3 separate regions of the Homo sapiens genome follow, and all the other regions are linked to region 3. Evidence: promoter capture Hi-C in 16 types of primary human blood cells and fetal thymus (Javierre and others, 2016). All regions are on one chromosome and are shown on one strand. Each heading gives the region's core, a stretch centred on a gene start or on the middle of the fragment in contact. The rest is flanking DNA. Distances are from core to core; before and after follow the strand shown.

Region 1 (2,700 bases), core at 65-2,564, 1.6 Mb before region 3:
TATGCTTACAATAATACTTGCATGAGAAAACAAATTTCAAGGAACTGGATACTAGAAATAATTAAACCATCTAGGAATTACCTTTCTTTGAGCTACTATTGCAGCCACTATTTTCTTGAAATACATTACTTCTTACCATTTGGTGACTGAAAAAAATTCCATTTTATCTCCTACATTACAAAATTTCTTCCTAGCATCTTCAACCTTTCCACCACTGGCTCTATTTTGTCTTCAAAGCTTTCCTGCTTTCAAAATATTTTTTTCTTACCTCTAGTTTCTTCTAGTTAACTATCGCACTATTTACTTCCTTTCTTGTGAAGTTCTGCTTCTCCAGCAAGTGGCTATAACCACCAGATCCCCTACCTCATCAATTACTTCAGTGAGCCTTCGGCATCTGTTCCCATCCTGCCAAAATTGTTCTTTCAAATCTAAAAAACATATTCTGTGCAAAGTCAAATGGCCTTTGTATTCTCTATGATCTCTCTATCATATGTTAAAACTACCTTATATGCTCCTTGAAATTCATGAATAAACAACCACTACTGGAGCAAAATTATATACTAGCATTTAATTTAAAAGCCCCCAGAACATTTTATTTTTTGAGACAAGGTCAAGCTTTGTAATCCAGGCTGAAGTGCAATGGCATGAACACTGCTTACTGCAGCCTCAACCTCCCTGGCTCAAGTAATCCTTCCACCTCAGCTTCCTAAATAGCTGGGACTACAGACACACACCAGCATGCTGGCTAATTTTTTAAATTTTTTTTGTAAAGATGAGGTCTCACTATGTTGCCCAGCCTGGTCTTGAACTCCTGGCCTCAAGCAATTCTCCTTCCTTGGCCTCCCAAAGTGCTGGGATTACAGGCATGAGCCACTGCATTCAGCCCAGAACTTATTTTTTAACCTGGAAAATTTATCTATTTAATACATTCAAATATAAAAATGTTTAAAACATAAAGCAGTAAATAAAAATTTAATTTTATAAAAACACAAGTACTAAATATATGCTTTTATTCTTACATAAGTCATCAGCAGATAAAATATTATAAATAAAAAACTGAACATATTATATATTTTTTAAAAGTGAGATTTTTATAAGCATATCAGTGATTTCATTGTTAAGACAAAAGCACTTTTTAATGCATTTTTCCTTCCTGACTGCTAAAACAGTGCTTTTCAACTCTTAGGGGAACAAAAAGGAGAGAGTTTTAGGTTAACTCCAAATATTATCCTAATTCCTACTTTTTAAATAACTGTCTCTTGCTTATTTTCTGGAGCACTTTTGAAAAACTTTCATTTTAAGTGATGGCAAACTTTACTGAGAGTAAGTTGCAGTTTTCTGCAACTCCCAGTGGATTTGTCTCTCTATACAAAATGAGTAATTGAGTCCCTGACCTGATCTCAAGCCAGAAATAATCCAGCTTTCTGCATGTTTTAAACAGCATGGTGTCCTGGAGTACTAATCGCCAGCATGATCATCACTGTTCCTATCTCTCTCCTCAGCCTACTTGACTGCCCCTTCTCTAGTCCCACCGGGGAGGAGTTCTTCCCTTCTGCTCCGCTTTCTCTACAATGTATTCTCTTTGATGACAAGACTTCTGCGCTGATGAACGTCAAATTGCTAACATAATTCTCAACGCCTCAACTTAAGTCAGAGCGCTGCATCTCAACACCTTCAGAGAAATGCCATTTTCACATCCTGTCCACATCAAATATATCTTCCTAATATAAACTCTGTCCAGACATAAAAATAGTAAAATCAGCAGATCAAGGTAGACTTCAAACAGATCCCATCATACATATAAATGTAATAGATGATAATGGGGATGGGAAGGATTATTTAATTAGTGGTGTTGAGTCAAACAAAAAGCTATTTGAGGGAAAAATACAACTGCTGTCTTCAAAATAATATATGGGTTAAAGAATTAAATACTTTTTAAAAAATCAACTAAAATTAAACTGAAAGGAAAGTGAATATTTATCAAGCCACTGAAGGTTAGAGGACTTAAGCTTAGAAAACAAAAAAAGATCAAGAGTTTGACTAAATAAAAATGGAAACTTATTATAAGTTGAAAACAGCCAAATTTTGACACAACATATAGTCCTTTTAAGAAAGAGTTTTGTATTAGTTTCTTAGTATTACATGCAGTAAAAAAATGTTATACTCAAAGACACCCATCATAGTTATTTGTTAGTGTTTACAATACACAAAACATTGGAAACAACACAAAAGGGGAAATGGCTCAGTAAATTATCCTTTTGGATGATAACCAAAACAAAGTGAGAAAAATGCTTACATGCTTTAAAAAAAAATCCAGGCAAAGAAAAGGATGAGAGGGAAACACCTAAATTTTATCAGTAGTGCGAGTGGTAGGAGACAATAAACTTTTCTTCTTTGTTCCTCTCTTTATTCTCCTTATTTTTTTTTCAAAACTGAAATGGGTTAAAATAAATATTTACCCTCTTATCATCATCTTGCTTGGGTTTTCTGGTTTTTTGAAGCAATTTCAGGCCTTCAATTTGTCTGACAAGCAGTGGTATAGTCATCTTGAACCGCTCCTCTAGGCTCACAGCATCTAAAATCTAAGGAAATGTGAGTCAATCAATAGGATCTCTCTCAGAAACACACAATCCAAAAACAGACAGTCAGAGCCATGGTTTAAATTGCCAAGTTAAAAAAAAATTATTAACAGTATTCAAA
Region 2 (2,872 bases), core at 25-2,524, 1.6 Mb before region 3:
CTGACAAAATTTTGGGAAACAAAAAGTACATGGACAAAAAGTAACCAACACTTAACAGGCTAGAGAAAGCAGAAACCTCAACATTTGTGGGGCTAGAGATAGAGAACAACAAGTTGATGTGGGTCCTAAAAGTCTACAAAAGCTAAAGAATTCAAGGTAGCCCTGAAAGCATGGATGAAGAGTGGGACAAAAGGCAAAAGTTTTCTAGATTCTCCCAAGGCAGAGTAAAAATAAAAAATAAAAATAAAGCCAGGCGCAGTGGCTCACACCTGTAATCCCAGCACTTTGGCAGGCTAAGGTGGGCAGATCACCTGAGGTTAGCAGTTGAAGACCAGCCTGGCCAACATGGTGAAACCCTGTCTCTACTAAAAATACAAAAATTAGCCGGGCGTGGTGGCATCCGTCTACAGTACCAGCTACTGGGGAGGCTGAGGCAGGAGAATCACTTGAACCTCGGAGACGGAGGTTGCAGTGAGCCAAGATTGTGCCACCGCAGTCCAGCCTGGACGACAGAGCGAGACTCCATCTCAAAAAGTAAAATAAAATAAAAATAATAAAAATAAAGCACAAGTTTTAAAGTCTGGATAAAATACAATTAGAACTCACTACCTCTACTCCTACTCCACATAATGAAGGCACTGCCTCCCTCCAATCCAACAGAAGATAGGAGCTTCGCTCTCTGGAGAAAATGAACCAGTGAGGTTCCAGGCGTGGGGAGGCAGGGGTGAAGCACTGTACTGGCCACAGAAGGATTCTGTGAAAGCTGACTCTGATGCTACTGCTGTAAAATGCACTGTGTTCAGCGACTGATGGAAAAACAAGAAAGACATTTGGCTGTGTCTGTTCAACTGGGTCCACCATAAATTATGGTTCTTTAATCACAGTCATCCAACTCCTTTCTGGAAACAGCTATGGAAATGATAGAAAAATCTAATAAATCTCTTTACTATGAAAGAAATTGTCAATTCCCTACAACTCATGTTTGTTAAAGCAAGTTTTGGCAAACTGCATAACAGCATGATATGATGAACTGAGACCCCTTACAGTTTTGGGGCAAGAAATTAAAACATTTTATTTTATTTACTTATTTATTTTTTTGAGATGGAGTCTCGCTCCGTTGCCCAGATGGAGTGCAGTGGGCATGACCTTTGCTCACTGCAACCTCTGACTTTTGGGCTCAAGCGATTCTCCTGCCTCAACCTCCAGAGTAGCGGGGACTACAGGCGCCCAACACCACGCCTGGCTAATTTTTGTATTTTTAGTAGAGACGGGGTTTCACCGTGTTGGCTAGGCTGGTCTCAAACTCCTGACCTCAAGTCATCTGCCTGCCTCAACCTTCCAAAGTGCTGGGATCAAAGGCATGAGCCACTGTGCCTGGCCAGTTAAAACATTTTAAGTAGATACCAAAGGAACATCCACATTTGATTAATTCCAGTAATAGAACACCTTCACAATAATTTTTTAAAGAATAATTTAAATTACATTTAGTTGTTTATCCATAAAAGAAAATGTGTGAAAAATTATTACACATGGAGCTATTCCAGAGTACAAAGGTCTGTCCTTGCAGTACCTGAACAGCATGGATTGTCTTATGTTGTAAAAACTTTTTATGTTATAAATTATTTAAAGACTTAACTGTCTGGGTCAGAAAGAAATAAGATAACACCAGAACCCATACATAACGTACACCATCATTATACATCTGGAGAAAGTTACTGTGATGGTTAATAGTGAGTTTCAACTTTGGATTGAAGGATGCAAAGTATTGTTCCAGTGTGTCTGTGAGGATATAGTCAAAGGAGATTAACATTTGAGTCAGCGGACTAGGAGAGGCAGACCCACCCTCAATCTGAGTGGGCACCATCTAATCAGCTTCCAGCATGGCTAGAATAAAGCAGAGAAAAGAAGCTGGAAGGATCAGACTTGCTGAATCTTCTGGCCTTCAGCTTTCTCCCGTGCTGGATGCTTCTTGCCCTCGAATATTGGACTCGAAGTTCTTCAACTTTTGGACTCTTGAACGTACGCCAGTGGTTTGCTGGGGGCTCTTGGGGCTTCGGCCACAGACTGAAGGCTGTACTGTCGGCTTCCCTACTTTTGAGATTTTGGAACTTGGACTGGCTTCCTTGCTCCTCGGCCTGCAGATGGCCTATTGTGGGACTTCACCATGTGATTGTGTGAGTTAATACTCCTTAAACTCTTCTTCATATACACATCTATCCTATTAGTCTTGTCCCTCTAGTGAACCCTAATACAGTTCCTATATCCTCAAAGCATTCATATTATTATTCCAGTTAAAACTGTGCTATTTGTAAAAGACAATCCTCTGGATGAAATATGTTGAAACATTAAGGTATTACTTACTGGATGCATTTAACAGTGGAGTCATGTGTGCCACTGCTCCAAGGACTACCCAACACCTTCCCCTCCATACCCAACCTTCTTCTGTCACTCACTCCTAGCCACCAGGCCTGAGAATGCCAGAACAAGGTCACCAACCTTCTCTCTCAGTCACATCAGAACGGTCCAACTTGGCTTCCTTATGCTGTCCTTCTGCCACCTTCACGGCCACAGCTCGGCAAATGGCCCCAAGTTTTCTATCCAGAGAACGAACCCCTGCCTCTCTGGTATACCTGTCATCAAACAAAAATATTTTATTTTTGACTATATACCACTTAAAAAAATAGAGAGGTAATGTGATTAACATTTTTGGTAAAACAGTGTACATTTAAAAGTTCATTACCCTTTCTTGAGTACTAACTTTTCCACACTTAAAACTCCTCATTATTGTTATTTCTTCAATACTTTGATCTATTTTCAGCTACAACAATTTCCTTTATACAGATTATCTTGAATTATAATCCTACACTTAAAA
Region 3 (2,700 bases), core at 4-2,503:
TAAGTGCTGTTTTCCTTGCCTTCCCTCGCCTGACTGCTCCACGTTTTAGCTACAATGGCTTTATTTCGAACCCCGGATCCCGCTTCCCATCTCAACGCTTTTACAGGAGCTGTCGCCCCTGCCTGGGCTGCTCTTGCCATATCTTTCCTCGCCTAGCATCTGCCATCAATCCGGCCTCAGCGGGAACGGCGCCTGCTTTTCCGAGTTTTGTTTGTTTCTTTGTGTTAAAGGCAGCCGCTAGGCCGCGCTCCACCCCAAGCCCAGTGGCTCAGGAGCATTGCCCGGTTAAGGTCTACACAGTCCTCGCCCTTACAGACAGCGGGGTCTGCGCCTCGTTGTCGGGTTCCCCGCTATAAACCCGACTGCAGTAGGCGTTGGCGGAATGAACGGAAAGTTCTCCCTGGCTCATTTTTCTACCCACGGACAGGGCTGGCTGTTCCCAGGGACGTGTGCCATCGCCGTTTGCTATCGCCCTTCTTGCCATCTCATTCAAGCTCACGGCCGAGAAGTTTTTCTTGAAGTAGGCCCTAAACCCCGCCCGGCCCCAGCGCTCCCCGTCACTCCCCCGCCGCCCGTCGCCTGGGAAGGGCGCGGGCCTCACCTGAGGGCCCAGGGCCGCGAGGCGGAAGCCCAGCCCTGGTCTTGCGCGGCCGAACTCACCTCAGCATGTCGGGCTCGGCGAGGCCCAGGCGCGGGGCTAGGCGCCCGATCAGCTCCGACCCCATGGCGCCGGCACTAAAGCGAACAATTCCCGTGAACGCCGCGGGTCAACGAAACCCGCGCGCAAAGGCTGCACCGGCCAGTGAGAGCCAGGCCCCACCCCCGGCGCATCTGGATTGGTTAGGACAGGACGTTGAGACCGTCCCACAAACCAATCAGGGTCTTCCTTTTGCGCATGCGCATCAATAGCGCAATCGCCAACGCAGATGCGGTGAACGTGGACTTGTCGGCTCCCCCTCCTTCCATTCCTTCTTGACAAACTCATCACACACTGCCTTTCCCTCCTGTTGTCTCCTGCCTGCCGCCGGGCGATCCCCACTGCCCTGCACTGCTCCGCCCACTCTCGCACGCTGTGGTGAGATTGGCTGGCGCTCAGGTCCGTCCATCTAGCGTTAAGTGACAGGGCCAATAAGCACGCGAGACTCGGGTTCCTAGAAGTAGGCCAATCAATGAGCCGCCTGTAGGGCCCGGGGGCGGGGCTAGAGAGGGCGGGGCTTGGAGGGGCCGCAGCGTCACATGACCGCGGGAGGCTACGCGCGGGGCGGGTGCTGCTTGCTGCAGGCTCTGGGGAGTCGCCATGGTGAGTGCTGAGGGGGCAGTGGCACCTGGGTCGACCCTCCTTGTAGCCCCTGCTCTCTCCCACCGCCCCGCACTCCAGCGAGTGGAGAAGGGGCCCCACAGACCGTTCGGGATTAAGACCAGCCCGATTTGGCCTGCGGGATAGGGGACAGCAGGAGGAAGGCCGCGGGCAGGCTGATCCGGGCCGGGGTGGGCGGCGGCTCTTGGCTGCGGCCGTTGCTGAGAGACGGGGCGGCCTCTCTGTGGGGTTGACTTGGCATGTAGGCTTTGGGGTCCATGAAGGCCTGCGGCCTCCTTTAAGTGGAATCGGTCACCTGCCTACCACGAGGGGACCGGTAGTCCTAGGTCTGAGCGTCTGGCCCCCGGGGCGCGTGGAGGCCCTGAGACTCGGAGGTGGCGCCGGGACCCGCCCAGATGTTGCGTTTCTACCTTTGTGCCTAGTTGTGCTCGGCCGTCCCCACGCCCTCCTGGAGGGGTCGCAGTGATTCCTTGGCCTTTCTTGGCCTCATACCCGCCTTCGGCTGCAGTGTTTGTCAGCGAGTTCTGGGGACCTGCTTACATGAATTTCCTGGAAGGACTCAGGCTGTCTTCTAATCCTGACGGTCGCAAAGGAGACTGATTGTTTACTTTAGCATTTGTGCATTGGGCGCACCTTGCCTCTTTTGTCTCGCCATTGATAAAATCCAAGTATTTGACTTGCTGGAAGCAGTACTTCTCCTTAGGGCCCGTCTATGACGGCAGCAAATCGTGGTGTGGCTGTTGGCCGGTAAACTTGAACTTCCTCAAAATGTGAATCTTTGTGTCTGGTTCCCACAAAGGCAAGTTGTCACTTGCATTTTATTAGCGTTTAACATAGCCTGCACTGTGTAAATAAATTTTTTGAGTATATACTGTATGTCCGCTTTAATTACCTTACTCACTCTGTGTAGATAGGCTTCTGTAAATCTGTAAGCCTGGAAACAGATTTCACTTTAAATGTCTTAATGCCAGAAAGGATTAAGTGTTTTACAAATACTATTTTCATATAACGTGTTGCCGTACAAGGTGATTTTGCCTGTTTCTCAGGATTTTTATAATTGGGAATTGATACAAGACCGGCGCAAAATTTAACTTTAGGATTTGTGTGTTTCCAGCGTTTATGGATTGACATTTATATTGTTTTGTAATGGAAAACACTTAATTGAGGATGTATTACACACTCCGATTCTTTGTTGGGTGAACCAGTTGGGAGCAATCAGCCAGACACACAGTCTTGTCCTCATGAATTTTATTGGGAAAGGAAACTTGAGTATTCGTTCTTTCACAGTCACTGTCTATAATTTAGGCAGCTCGCTTAGTCTTCTTGGTGTCGCACTTTTGCATCCGAAAGCAAGTGTTGGCGGCCCCTTTGGCCCTTCCCAG

The links. Contacts are between HindIII fragments. The CHiCAGO score rates a contact against its expected background, and 5 or more counts as called.
Region 1: a contact is called between a fragment that was not itself captured here and the fragment with the promoter of VPS35 in region 3, in 3 of 17 cell types (naive CD8 T cells, non-activated CD4 T cells and total CD8 T cells). The highest score is 6.0, in naive CD8 T cells.
Region 2: a contact is called between a fragment that was not itself captured here and the fragment with the promoter of VPS35 in region 3, in 4 of 17 cell types (non-activated CD4 T cells, naive CD4 T cells, total CD8 T cells and 1 more). The highest score is 9.1, in non-activated CD4 T cells.

Annotation. Positions count from the first base shown.
Region 1 is chr16:48,258,500-48,261,199 of GRCh38, reverse strand. It overlaps LONP2 (lon peptidase 2, peroxisomal), which reads right to left. Exons shown (of 15, transcript NM_031490.5): 4 at 2,460-2,582. Among named protein-coding and RNA genes, the nearest start is that of ABCC11, 12 kb to the right of the region's middle. The HindIII fragment of the contact is 1,394 bases long and covers 618-2,011 here.
Region 2 is chr16:48,302,930-48,305,801 of GRCh38, reverse strand. It overlaps LONP2 (lon peptidase 2, peroxisomal), which reads right to left. Exons shown (of 15, transcript NM_031490.5): 11 at 2,497-2,630. Among named protein-coding and RNA genes, the nearest start is that of ABCC11, 57 kb to the right of the region's middle. The HindIII fragment of the contact is 4,768 bases long and covers 1-2,872 here.
Region 3 is chr16:46,687,731-46,690,430 of GRCh38, reverse strand. VPS35 (VPS35 retromer complex component) reads left to right here and starts at 1,253. Exons shown (of 17, transcript NM_018206.6): 1 at 1,253-1,300. The coding sequence starts at 1,298. ORC6 (origin recognition complex subunit 6) reads right to left here and starts at 772. Exons shown (of 7, transcript NM_014321.4): 1 at 661-772. The coding sequence starts at 725. RefSeq lists enhancers at 1-18, 69-148, 386-1,084, 1,085-1,782 and silencers at 489-788, 1,109-1,348, 1,499-1,548. The HindIII fragment of the contact is 9,040 bases long and covers 1-2,700 here.